Regions from separate parts of the Homo sapiens genome. Here region 1 is linked to region 2. The links are contacts of gene promoters, found by promoter capture Hi-C in blood cells and fetal thymus (Javierre and others, 2016). All regions are on one chromosome and are shown on one strand. Each heading gives the region's core, a stretch centred on a gene start or on the middle of the fragment in contact. The rest is flanking DNA. Distances are from core to core; before and after follow the strand shown.

Region 1 (5,850 bases), core at 2,878-5,377, 150 kb after region 2:
CCCGCCCCCACTTTCAACTTCCCCTTAAGATAGGGACAGTCACATAGACATTTTTTGAAAATCAAAGAGAAAAATAAAAGCACCCCATCACGATCACCGACGAAATCCCGACTCTGTGGTGGAATTGGGTGCCGGGTGAGGACGATGGCAACACGCTCCTGGTCGCTTCGCGAACTCCTCCGGGAGGTCGCCAAGTTTCTCTTTCACCCTTTTTCCCGCACCCGCCGAGCCCAGGAAGGAAGGGGGCGGCCGCAGGGGCCGGAACCGCGCGACCTGGAACCCGGGGCCTTTTTTGATTGCCGGCCGCGCCCCGCGCAAGTGCCGGCGTTCGAGACCCGCCCCAGCGCGCGTGGGCGCCAACTTCGCGGGGACCCCCAGCGACGCGCCCCCCTCGGTACCCCTAGTCCCGCCTCTCCTGGGCTCAGCCGGATCCGGGCGTCCCCGTCACCCTCCCCACCCCCCAGGGAAACGAGCCCACCCCTAGCAGCGTCACCCTGGATGGGGCGGCGGGGCCGCAGTCACCTTCCCGGGGAAGAAGCCGGGACCCCGACTGCGGGCGGCCCGCAGCTCCCGCCGCACCCCCGCAGCCCTGGCGGCGTCCGGGCGAGCTCACCTGGCGGCTGGCTGCGGCCTCCGGGGCGGCCTCTGGGCGTGGGCCGGGCGGGGGCTGCAAGGGGGGCGGCGGGAGCCCGGGCTGCAGCCGGGGCCGCCGCCGGCCGCCAAGCCTCGCCCCAACTCGCGCCGGCCGCGGCCGCCCCCGGGGAGTACCGGGAGCGCGGGGAGCGCGGGTCCCGCGGCGGCGGCGGCGGCGGCGGCGGCGCGGCGCGGCGCGGCTCAGGCGTCGGAGCAGGCGGCCGCGGGCGCCGCCGCCTCCTCCTCCATGGCTGTTTACCCGGCTGCATTGTGGGAGTTTGACCTCCGCCGCCGCCAACCGCCGCCTCAGCTTGCGCCGCCGCCGCCGCCGCCGCCGCCGCGCACGCCATGGGAGCCGTGACTGACGGTGAGGCCCCGCTCGCCGCCACACGCGCCCGCTGCACGGCCCGCTGGGCCTCCCCTGAGACCCCTGGCCTCCCGGCCCGCTTCCGGGAACCCCTCGGCCTCCCCGGCCTCTTCGCCAGAGCGCTTCGGCCTTCCCGACCTCTCCCCGGAGCCCCGGGCCTCCCCGGCTGCTTCCCTGAGTCCTTCCTCCTCTCGCCAGAGCCCGAGCGCCCCTCGGAGACCCTCGGCTTTCCCCGTCCGCTCTCCCGGAGGCAGCGCGGGGCTATAGGGTGTGCCGGGAGCGTGGTCGGTGGGCTGGGAACACACGTGGGTGGCCGAGACGGCTAGAAGCGGTGCAAGGGCGGGTGGGACCAGAGGGAGTCCGGGTTTGTCTAGGGGCGCGGTGAGGACCCAGGAGCCGCGAAGGGTGGACAGTGGTGCCGGGCTTAGGGCTGGGGGCCTGGAAGGTTTGTGGAGGTCTGGGAGGGAGTGGGAGCTCCAGGGACGGGGCGGGAATTTCGGGACTCGTCTACAAGGGGTGTCAGGATACAGAGCGTGACACCAGGAGGGGTCCTGGGGCATATTGGGAAGCACTCACAGACAGTGGAGTCGATGGCAATGAGGCCTTGAACTGCGAGTGGATTGTGGGTGAGAAGGAGGAGCAGGGAATTATTTATAAAAGGAATAGATAGGGATGAGGTATCCGGAGGGTGATCAGGAAGTGTACCTGGGAGATTTACGGGGGTAAGGAGGAGCCAGTATAGTGATGAGACCGTCTAGGGTAGATCAGGACGATAAAAGATGTATGTGTGTGTGTTAGGAAGGGTGGTTGTCAGCTGGGATGAATTTAGAGGGGCAAAGGCTGGGTTTGTGGACAGTCTAAGGGAGATGGTCTATGGACTGAGAGCGGAAATAAGGTGACACTTTGGGGGAAGGGGCATGATTGGCAACTGGAGGGAGAACCTACAAGGTATCTGGTTAGGGAGGAAGGAGGTCCTTTGATATCTGGGAAGGGGATATCTAGGGCTCTTGGGTGTTTTTCAGGAGATGGTGACCGGTAACTGTAAATGCCTGTGGAGAGGCCACTTCTTAAGAGTTGAAGACCACCAGGGTCTCCACATTAAAGGGCCTGGCCATGGGAAGAACAGTGATAGGCCCAAATTTCCAGACTGATAAAGAGTAGTGGAGGTGGGAGGCTACTAAAGACCCAGGAACTTCATGTGGAATTTCAGCTTTGCTTCATTCCAGTTTCATTTATTTAGTGGATATTTATCCTTCCTGGACTAGGCTTTGGGATTACAACCCAGAACTAACAAGCAAGAACTTTTCCCTCTCCAAAATTTTGGTCTGAAGGGAAAGAAACATTGACTAATGAGTTTTAAGAGTGACAAATATTACCACAAGGAAGTACAAGGTTGGGAACTGTAGGAACATGTAACAAAGATTATTTATCCAATCAATGGAAATGAGAAAGCCTCCTCGAAGTTAATCCCATTTTTGAAGAATAAATAGATATTGGACTGGTGTTCTGGGTTGGTAGCCACTTGTATAAAGACCCCAAGATGTTGGAAGAACTCAAAGCTGACAAGTATTGCTAGAATTTAGAAAGTTATGAGCCAGAGATCTCTAAGGGCAATAGGAATCCATTAAAAGTTTTAACACTGGTGTGGTGTTAATCAGATTGGCATTAAAACACACACACATGCCGGGCACAGTGGCTCACGCCTGTAATCCCAACACTTTGGGAGGCCAAGGCAGGCGGACCTCTTGAGCTCAGAAGTTCAAGACCAGCCTGGAAAACATAGTGAGACCCCATGTCTACAAATACAAAAAAATTGGTCTGGCACAGTGGCACACACCTGTAGTCCCAGGACTTGGGAGTCTGAGGAGAAAGGATCACTTGAGCCTGGGAGGTTGAGGCTGCAGTGAGCCAAGATCGCGCCAGTGCACTCCAGTCTGGGTGACAGAGTGAGACCGTGTCTCATTAAAAAAAAAAAAAACACACACACACATACACACTGTCTCTGTTATGTGCAGAATGATTAGAGGAAGAGAAAATGAGGAGCTAAGTTTCCTCGCCACTTACTAACGTTTACGTAGTGCTGTTAGGTATTATTCTAATTGTTATCCCCATTTTACAGATGAAACAGACACAGGTTAGCTTGCCTAAGGTCGCACAGATAGTAGTTATAGAGGGTCAAAGGCAGGGAGACCACCTGCCGAGTTCCTGCTCTTCACTATTATGCGTCCTGTGTCTGCTACTTCTGCAGTGGCCCTGGTGAGAGACAATGAGGACTGTGACCAAGAGGGAATGCAAAGAGGACAGGTGGGAGGGAAATAGGGAAATTTGTGAGGTAGAATGTCAGGACTTCAGGTATTGAATGGATGGTGGGAGAAGGGATTTAGGATGATCCCAGGTTTTTGACTTCACTGTGTGCCTGTTAGTGCTACTTTTCTATTTATTGAGATTGAGATGTCCAAAGGAGCAACAGGCTTTGTCAGATGGGAGATAGGGACAGAAGATGAGTTCTAAAGTAATGACTGCAGTCAAGTGCCCCCCCACATCCTTAAAAGCCACAGGAATCTCTACCCTGCCACTTACAGACTGTCTCAGCTTCAGTCTCTGAACGGAGATAATAATAAAATCCACATCAGCGGATTGTTTTGAGGATTAAACACAAAAAGTTGTAAAGGGCTTTGCATTGAGTCCAACACATAATAATTAATATTCAGTAAATATTAATGTCAGAGTTGTTTTACTAATCTGTCTTCCACTTTCCTTTGATGTGGACTTTGCCTTCTCTCTTAATCTGCACAGGTTGCCTTTTCCTGCCTTTTCTATCAGGTGACACTCCACTTATTCCTCAAGACCCACCTCAAAAATCCCCTCTTTTCTTTCCTAGAAGTAGTTGACCTTCTGCCTACTAGCCATATTATTTTATGCATATTGCTGCTGTCACCCTTAATACGTTATTTATATGCCTTATGCTAGAAAACATTTAAGGCAGTTCACTGTAATGAGAAAATATAAAAATTAAACGGATTAGAAAACAAGACAAAAAGAACATTGAGATTAGGAAAAATAAAGGGAAGTCAGAAGTGGGGTGATCCTCAAAATGCAGGAGGATAAAGTCTAGTACATTAATTAACCAAGCTGTAAGTGACCTGTTTCTCCAGTAGGCCATTCTGAGAGGCAGGACCTCGTCTGCTCTGTGATCTAGTGTTCATGAGAGAAGGCAATCTTAGATGCCCAGGAAAAGCACTTTTTTTTTCTGATTTGAACTAGAGGAAAAGTTTATCATTGAGGTCTTTATAAATGAAAGCCAGTGTCATATCCTTAACCTCTTTTCAGCACTGAAGATCATAGAGCTGTTTTGTAGCACATCCCTTGCTAGGTAAAAGAAGGCTAAATCACAATTTAGAAAGACATTCTAAAGCCAGTAGAGGCTGGGTGTGGTAGCTCACACCTGTAATCAATCTTAGCACTTTGGGATGCTAAGGCAGGAGGATCACGTGAGCCCAGGAGTTTGCGACCATCCTAAGCAACACAGCAAGACATGATCTATACTACAGAATTTTTCAAATTAGCCAGGCGTGTGTGGTGGTGTGCACCTGTAGTCTCAGCTACTCATCTCTACTAAAAATTTTCTTAAATTAGCCAGGTGGAGTGGAACACACCTGTAGGTAGTCCCAGCTACTCAGGAGGCTGAGGCAGGAGGATCACTTGAGCCCAGGAGTTTGAGGTTGCAACGAGCCATGATTGCACCACTGCACTCCAGCCTGTCAACAGTGCTAGACCCTGTCTAAAAATAAATAAATAAAATCAATGGACAATGTGGTTTAGGTGGGTAGTGGGTAGCTCTGCTGATCTGGCTTGATTCAAATCAGGGTTTTTTGATTGAATATCTAGACCATAGAGGAAAGACAAACTACAACTTCTTCAGACAATCCTCTATAAACATGGTTTTTGTCAGCTGAGCTTTTGAAAAAATCAAGCTGAAATGAGTGGTATGTGTGATCCGTCAACAAGTATTTATTGCATACCTTCTAGGCACAATGCGAGGTCCTGGCTACTTTGCAGTGAACTAGACAGAGGAGGGCCCTGGCCCCTGCTTTGGGGAAAGAAGCCATAGTGTGCAATCAAATAAGTAAATAAGATAATTTCTGAAAAGGAATGTAATTAAGTTCTGAGAATGAACTTGATGGAATGAGGACAGAGAGTAATGGGGGAGGGCAGTGATACCTGACAGGTTCAACCACATGAAGAGCCCAGGAAAGTATTCCAGATAGAGACAACAACTAGTGCAAAGGCCCGAGGTGAAAACAAGCTCTGCACCCTTTAGAGGAAATAAGGAAAGCCACTGGGCTGGATCTAGGGACAGGACTGCATCCAGGTGGGCCAAGAGGAGTACGATGCAAAAGGAGGTAAAAGGGAGCTCAGGAGGAGCCTTGCAGGCTTTGGAAAGGAGACTGAATTGTCCTTTGTGGGCATTTAGAAATGATAGGAGGATTGTAAGCAGGAGAGTTAGTGATCCAATTCATCTTTTAGATCATTCTGAGTTGCATAAAAAATGGATTCTAGGAAGGCAAGAATGGAAACAGGGAGTCCAATGCAAAATATTCCAGATGAGAGAAATGTGGGCTTGGATTAGAGCGATGTTAGTGTGGAAGATAGAAGTGGATGCTCTTGATATCTCATTCATCCTCCTGGAAAGCTCTTGGAGGAGTACCAGTACCTGTCCATGGAGCTTACATAAGAGCCAATGTCTTTTACAAATTTGATGTGCCTGTATCACTGTCCCTTCATGTAATCCATTCCTCTGGGTCTGCGTATCCAGTTGGACTGGGAGCTCTTGAAGAAGCAGCCCTTTA
Region 2 (5,686 bases), core at 412-2,911:
CATTTTATTCATTGCAGCGGTTGTGGAACAGGAAATGAAAAAGGACTGGCTTTTTGCCCCTCATTATCGATACTATGTAAGAGAAATGAGAATTCATGCATACAGTCAGCTGCTGGAATCATATAGGTCATTAACCCTTGGCTATATGGCAGAAGCGTTTGGTGTTGGTGTGGAATTCATTGATCAGTAAGTTTGAATAATGCCATGTTAATTGAAGTTTTAAAGTTGCCTTTTAAAATATGTGAACTTGTACAATTTTTTACTTGTTTACATTGGTTCCCTCAATCTTAACGGGGAGGGGAGAGGTTTTTTTCCTCAGTATTATCAAAACATTCGTATCCTGTTGCCTCTGCCTTCCTCATGTCATGTCTGCCCCTTGCATTAACAGATGGGAAGATGAGTTGTAGTGAGGCTAAGTGATTTGTTAAAGGTCATTAGACCAGTTGTTATCAAAAGTTGTCTTCTGTTACTTCTTTGTAGACCACACTGCAGCTACGGTAATGACTCTTAGATCTGATATTTACAGTTGGTCATATTCCCTCTGATAATTCCTTCCAGTTTTTAGGTTGCTGCTGCAATTCTGGTCAGATTGGTTGTTAAATGTGGGACTTTTAGTACTTGCATCAGTGATTAAACAAATAAATACTTAATGAGCCATTCATTACTATATGTTTGGTATTGTTTTACAGCTCCCTTTTCACACTTTCATTGTAGTAGTAGGGAAGAGATGGCAAGGAAGCAAATAAATATAAAACGTAATTTCACATATAGAAATGAACCTATGGAGATGAGAAAATGCTATCCTTACGTACGGCATGCTTAAGGAGGTGAGGTTTGCTCTGAGATTTGAATTGAGAGGAGTCAGCCATATGGAGTCCTTCTGCGTGCAGAAAAGGGAATAGAAAAGGCTAAGGCTTTGAGCCAGGAATAAGCTTGGATGTTGTAGGAACAGAAAATGTCAGGGTGGCTCCAGCATAGTTGGAGTGGTAGGAGATTTTGAGGATAATATATGGAGAGTTAGGTAGGTAATGATTTGTGTAGGGCCTTGTAGGTCATGGGATGGAGCTTGAGTTTTAAGTAAGTTTGATAGGGAGCCATTGGAAGATTTAGAGCCCAAGTTACATGGTCCTATGCAGTGTCTTTATATAAGAAATAGAGTAAGGTGGCAGAGAGGACCAGTTGTGCTGTTTAGTAGCTCTTAGAGGAGATGTTACCGTGGCGTGGACGAGGGTGGTGAGAGTAGAGTTGGGTAGGAGACATACTCAATATGGGATGTCCAGATGGCATCTAGATCAGTGGCTCCCACATGTAGGTGTTTTTAAATGTTGATGATGGTGTTTTCAATGGTCTGCAGTGGAAACTTTAAATGAAGATGCATTTCTTTTAAATAAGACCATTCTCTTTCTAGTATTTTTTAAATTTCGAACATCCATAAAATTGTAAAGAAAGAATTGTACAGTACATTTTAACATATTTGCTTGTTACAATCTATACATTTTATGTTTTTTAACCACTTCAAAGTAAGTTTCAGACACCAACACATTTTTTAAATGATCCCTACCATTTTTTAAATGATCCCTACCAAAATGGAAGGCTGGTATCCCAAGGTTTTGTTCCATTTCTCAATTCTAGTCTGTGAAATTGAAGTCTGATGACCACTCTTAAGAGGGCTGTTCATTAGGGTGCGGGCTGGGCATTATGAGTGTGTTTTTCATGAGTCAGTGGAAGGAGGGGCTTGTTGTGAGCAGTGCATGAGAAAAACGGCTTGGCTTTGCTTCTTTTTCCAGCTCTGTGGCCTTGGTCAGGTTACGTCTCTTCAGTATCGTAACTGTAATGTGGAGATAAAGCCTTCATTAGTTAGGGGCACACACCGCAGTATTCCTTAAGTCATCTTGATGACAAGTGAATGCAAGGCAGCTGGTACCTTTCAGGTAGTAGTTGAATTCAGGTAGTATTTGTTCAGTTTTTTTTTTTTCCCTTCATGTTCTAAGACCAGCTTGAGAGGCAAAGGTTGTACCACTGAGCTCTAGTTGTTGTTACCTAAAAAGGCCTTGTTTTAAATTTCTGTGATACCTAAGAATTTCAAATCTGGGTTGTCATGGATTCTTTATTCTTTTTTTCTCCCTTAAAAAGTTACATTTTAGATGAAATCCCCTTTTTTAAAATGGGCAAAGCAATAATTCTACATCATTTCTCCCCTTCCCTTCCACTTGTTTAGACTAAGATATGTTAGAGAGGGAAAGGGTCGTTGTTTTAGTAAATACTATTGCTGTTGACATGTTAATACTATTGCTGTTGACATGTTTACTGATGGGCTGTGTTCCATAATTTTGTTTTAGGTCTTTTGTTTGAAACAGTTTACTGTTTTTATCAGTTTTGGTCCCTAATTTTTCCTAACCTACAGTTTTTCTCTGAGTACATATGGTTTCATTGTTTGATCTACTTTCTATCTATCTGAATATGAACTTCTAGGATCATGTTTATTCTAGTAGATGATGACTTAAAGCCTGCAGTATAGGAGGGACAACGTCAACTACTGCATGTGCAATAACAAGCTTGAAGGGAAGCTAAATGTTTGTTACAAATTTAAGACAGTATTTTAATGCCGTTTGCATTTTTCTAAGAATTTTCTATAAAGCTAATTCTGTTATTTTTTGTCTCTAAATTAGGGAACTGTCCAGGTTTATTGCTGCCGGGAGACTACACTGCAAAATAGATAAAGTGAATGAAATAGTAGAAACCAACAGGTACTCTCATTTCTCAGAATAAGGGGCATTCCTAAATTTTAAAAGTAGGTCAACTATTGTCATGGAATAATGTGACTGGTAAATAATTCATTTTTTCTTGAATTTATTTATAGACCTGATAGCAAGAACTGGCAGTACCAAGAAACTATCAAGAAAGGAGATCTGCTACTAAACAGAGTTCAAAAACTTTCCAGAGTAATTAATATGTAAAGCCATGTAACTAACAAAGGATTTGCTTTAGAGATAATTATTTGGAATTTTTATAGCTTACTTCACAATGTGCCCAGGTCAGCTGTATAAAATAAATACTGCATTGTTGTTTCTTTCCATTTATTTTTTTCTTAAACACATAGGCCTTCTAGAATCGGGTCCACTTATGTTAAAATAATGTCACTTGAATTATTCATTAATGAAAATCTGGTTTATAGGGTAAGGTTGCAGCTGGGTTCAGCTAGGTTCAGCTCCTGACTGCCTCATCAGTAAAATACGTCAGTAAAATACGGATGTTGACACAGCCCATTATCGCTTACCTTTAAATCTCTTACCTGTAAGCTTCCCGATTTTAGAAAGAAGAGTAGTGGCCTAAAATTAAACAAACAGTGTCTCCCACTTTTAGTATACAAAAGATAGAAGATAAAGAAAATGTGTAATAAGCTTTCCCTCAGAAACAAGTAACCATATAAGGCAGGAAGTTACTCTTTTTTAGGAAGCTGACATAACCTGGATTACAGAATCTACCAAGGCTGATCTCAGTTTTCTAAAACCTTATATGTAAGTATTTATTAGCAAACTGAATCTTTTTTCCAAAAGTAGGACCATAGTAATAATAGCAGTGAGGAAAACAAAGTTGTTCCTCTGTTTGTTTGAAACAGTTTATTAGTTTTATCAGTTTTATTCAGTGTGTCAGATAGGAATAAGTGCTATAAGAAGTATAAAACCAGATAGACAGACAGATAGATAGATAGATAGATAGAGATACAGGGTATAGGCCGTCTTCTGAGGTGTTGTGGAAGGCTTCTATGGTAAGGTGACATTTAAGTGAAAAGGAGGGAGAGCCCATGAACGTATGGAGGGAAGAAAGACGAGGAAAGTCACTGGCAATTTTAAGTGCGGATTTGGCTTACCTTTTACGTCTCACTTACGGCATTCGGTGGCATGGATTGTACAGGCAGCTGGATTTGCTAAAAGATTGAAGAATGGGGTGAGGAGGATGAGGGGGAGAAAATTTGTCAGAGGAGATCCTAGGCTTTTTGGCTTAAGTGAAAGACAGCTAGTGACCTTAATGAGCAGTTTTGGTAGAGGTGAGTTCAGAAGAGAATGGGAAATGGCATTTTACTGTAAAAGGCAAGGGAAGGAAAGAAGAGTTTTGAGTTTTTTTGCTTTAAATAACATTTACTGATGGGAATGATTCCTGTTAACATATTAGGAATAACATATTCCTAATATGGAATTCCTAACAGGAATAACATACTCCTGTTAACATGATCTCATTTGATTGAAAATAATTTGATATAATTCAACATTTCTTCATGATAAAAAAACTCTTCAGTAGACTATGAATAATAGGTTGGGATATCAAAGCCCTATCACAAGGTAATTAATGGCAAAATATTAGAAGCATTATCTTAAAAGTGAAGACAGCAGCTCTCATCGCTGGAAGAAGAGCCATTGGTTGTATGCCAAGGAAAGCAATGTGGCTAGATCTCTGTTTTGAAAGGAGTTTCCTGTAGGCACTGTATTGTGGAGGGGAGGCTTTTAAAATGCTGACTATGCCTAATGTATTTGAGAATATCCACCTATGAATTTCTAAAAATGCTTATCTAGAAAACATTTCTTAAAGGAAAAAAACCTCAGCTTTTTGGTTTTCTACAGAAAACCAAAGCTAGTCAGGAATGCAAAGGTGGCTTCTGAATGCTACAGAGTTGCAGTTGTTCACCCACAGGCGGCAATTGACACACCCTAAATACTTTTCCAAGAAAAAAATTTATAGTTACCACGTAAAAGTTGACAGTTTAAAAACCACATATCTAGCTTCTCTGGAAAAAGGACAGGTGAAGCTAAATCTGGACTCACGCTCCAATAAGCTGAGCGACAAGCATAGCGTGTTTTCCAGTGTGCCCCAGTCCACCCAGTCTGTTCATATACACTGCCTGTCTGCCTGGCCCCTGCTGGCATTTGAGCTTGTTATCCCTGCACTACCCCCAATATTGTGCATGTGAGGTTGATGGTTAACAGCCTCCTGTGTTAATCAACTAAGACAGGGGTGTCCCATCTTTTGGCTTCCCTGGGCCACACTGGAAGAATTGTCTTGGGTGACACAAAATACGCTAAGGATAGCTGATGAGCTCAAAACAAAACAGCTCATAATGTTTTAAGAAAACTTACAAATGTGTGTTGGGCCACATTCAAAGCTGTTGTGGGCTCTGGGTTGGACAAGCTTGAGCTAGGAGAAACTATCCAAAGAATTCCTAACCTTTATCCTGTCTCTAGTAGCTTTAACTGGTACAGCTTGTTTTCTGAAAGTCTTAATTTTCTGCTTTTATTCAAGAAGGTTACTTCACAATATGAAAATAAGATTATGAAATGATGCTAAAACAGTTATACATAGTTCCTTTTTCATGTTGGTAAATGTTTTCTTTTGAAGTGGGAAACAATCTTATTTTTAACCCTGGTTTCAGTCAAAAGTAACTATCCTAGTGTGAAATGATATCGCCAGGATAAACTATCTTTTGTGATTATTTTTAAAGCAGAAATGCCAGTTTCTCTTACCTCAGTAAAAGTTGATTTTATAGCAAATCTATCGAGTAAGAGCTAAATATTTTAAAGCTATGTCAAATTATGGTAATCTATTTCCTGTATTAGAAATAACAGCTTTAGGTCAATTTTTAAGCTATTAAAAAACAGTGTCTCTTAGGACAGAAACAGTGTAAAAACCACTT

What was found. The method cuts DNA at HindIII sites, captures the fragments that hold promoters and counts their contacts. A CHiCAGO score of 5 or more calls a contact.
Region 1: the fragment with the promoter of THOC7-AS1 here is called in contact with the fragment with the promoter of PSMD6-AS1 in region 2 in 15 of 17 cell types (total CD8 T cells, naive CD4 T cells, monocytes and 12 more); the score reaches 14.7 in total CD8 T cells.

Annotation. Positions count from the first base shown.
Region 1 is chr3:63,858,922-63,864,771 of GRCh38, reverse strand. THOC7-AS1 (THOC7 antisense RNA 1) reads right to left here and starts at 4,127. Exons shown (of 2, transcript NR_104326.1): 1 at 3,776-4,127; 2 at 2,953-3,273. It overlaps THOC7 (THO complex subunit 7), which reads left to right and starts at 967. Exons shown (of 8, transcript NM_025075.4): 1 at 967-1,000. The coding sequence starts at 982. ATXN7 (ataxin 7) reads right to left here and starts at 905. Exons shown (of 13, transcript NM_001377405.1): 1 at 614-905. RefSeq lists silencers at 229-448, 459-698, 1,029-1,248. The HindIII fragment of the contact is 14,056 bases long and covers 1-5,850 here.
Region 2 is chr3:64,007,939-64,013,624 of GRCh38, reverse strand. PSMD6-AS1 (PSMD6 antisense RNA 1) reads right to left here and starts at 1,661. Exons shown (of 2, transcript NR_189168.1): 1 at 1,583-1,661. PSMD6 (proteasome 26S subunit, non-ATPase 6) reads left to right here. Exons shown (of 8, transcript NM_014814.3): 6 at 18-186; 7 at 2,670-2,747; 8 at 2,861-3,074. The coding sequence ends at 2,957. PSMD6-AS2 (PSMD6 antisense RNA 2) reads right to left here. Exons shown (of 3, transcript NR_038286.1): 2 at 3,872-3,928; 3 at 1,382-1,828. The HindIII fragment of the contact is 1,623 bases long and covers 935-2,557 here.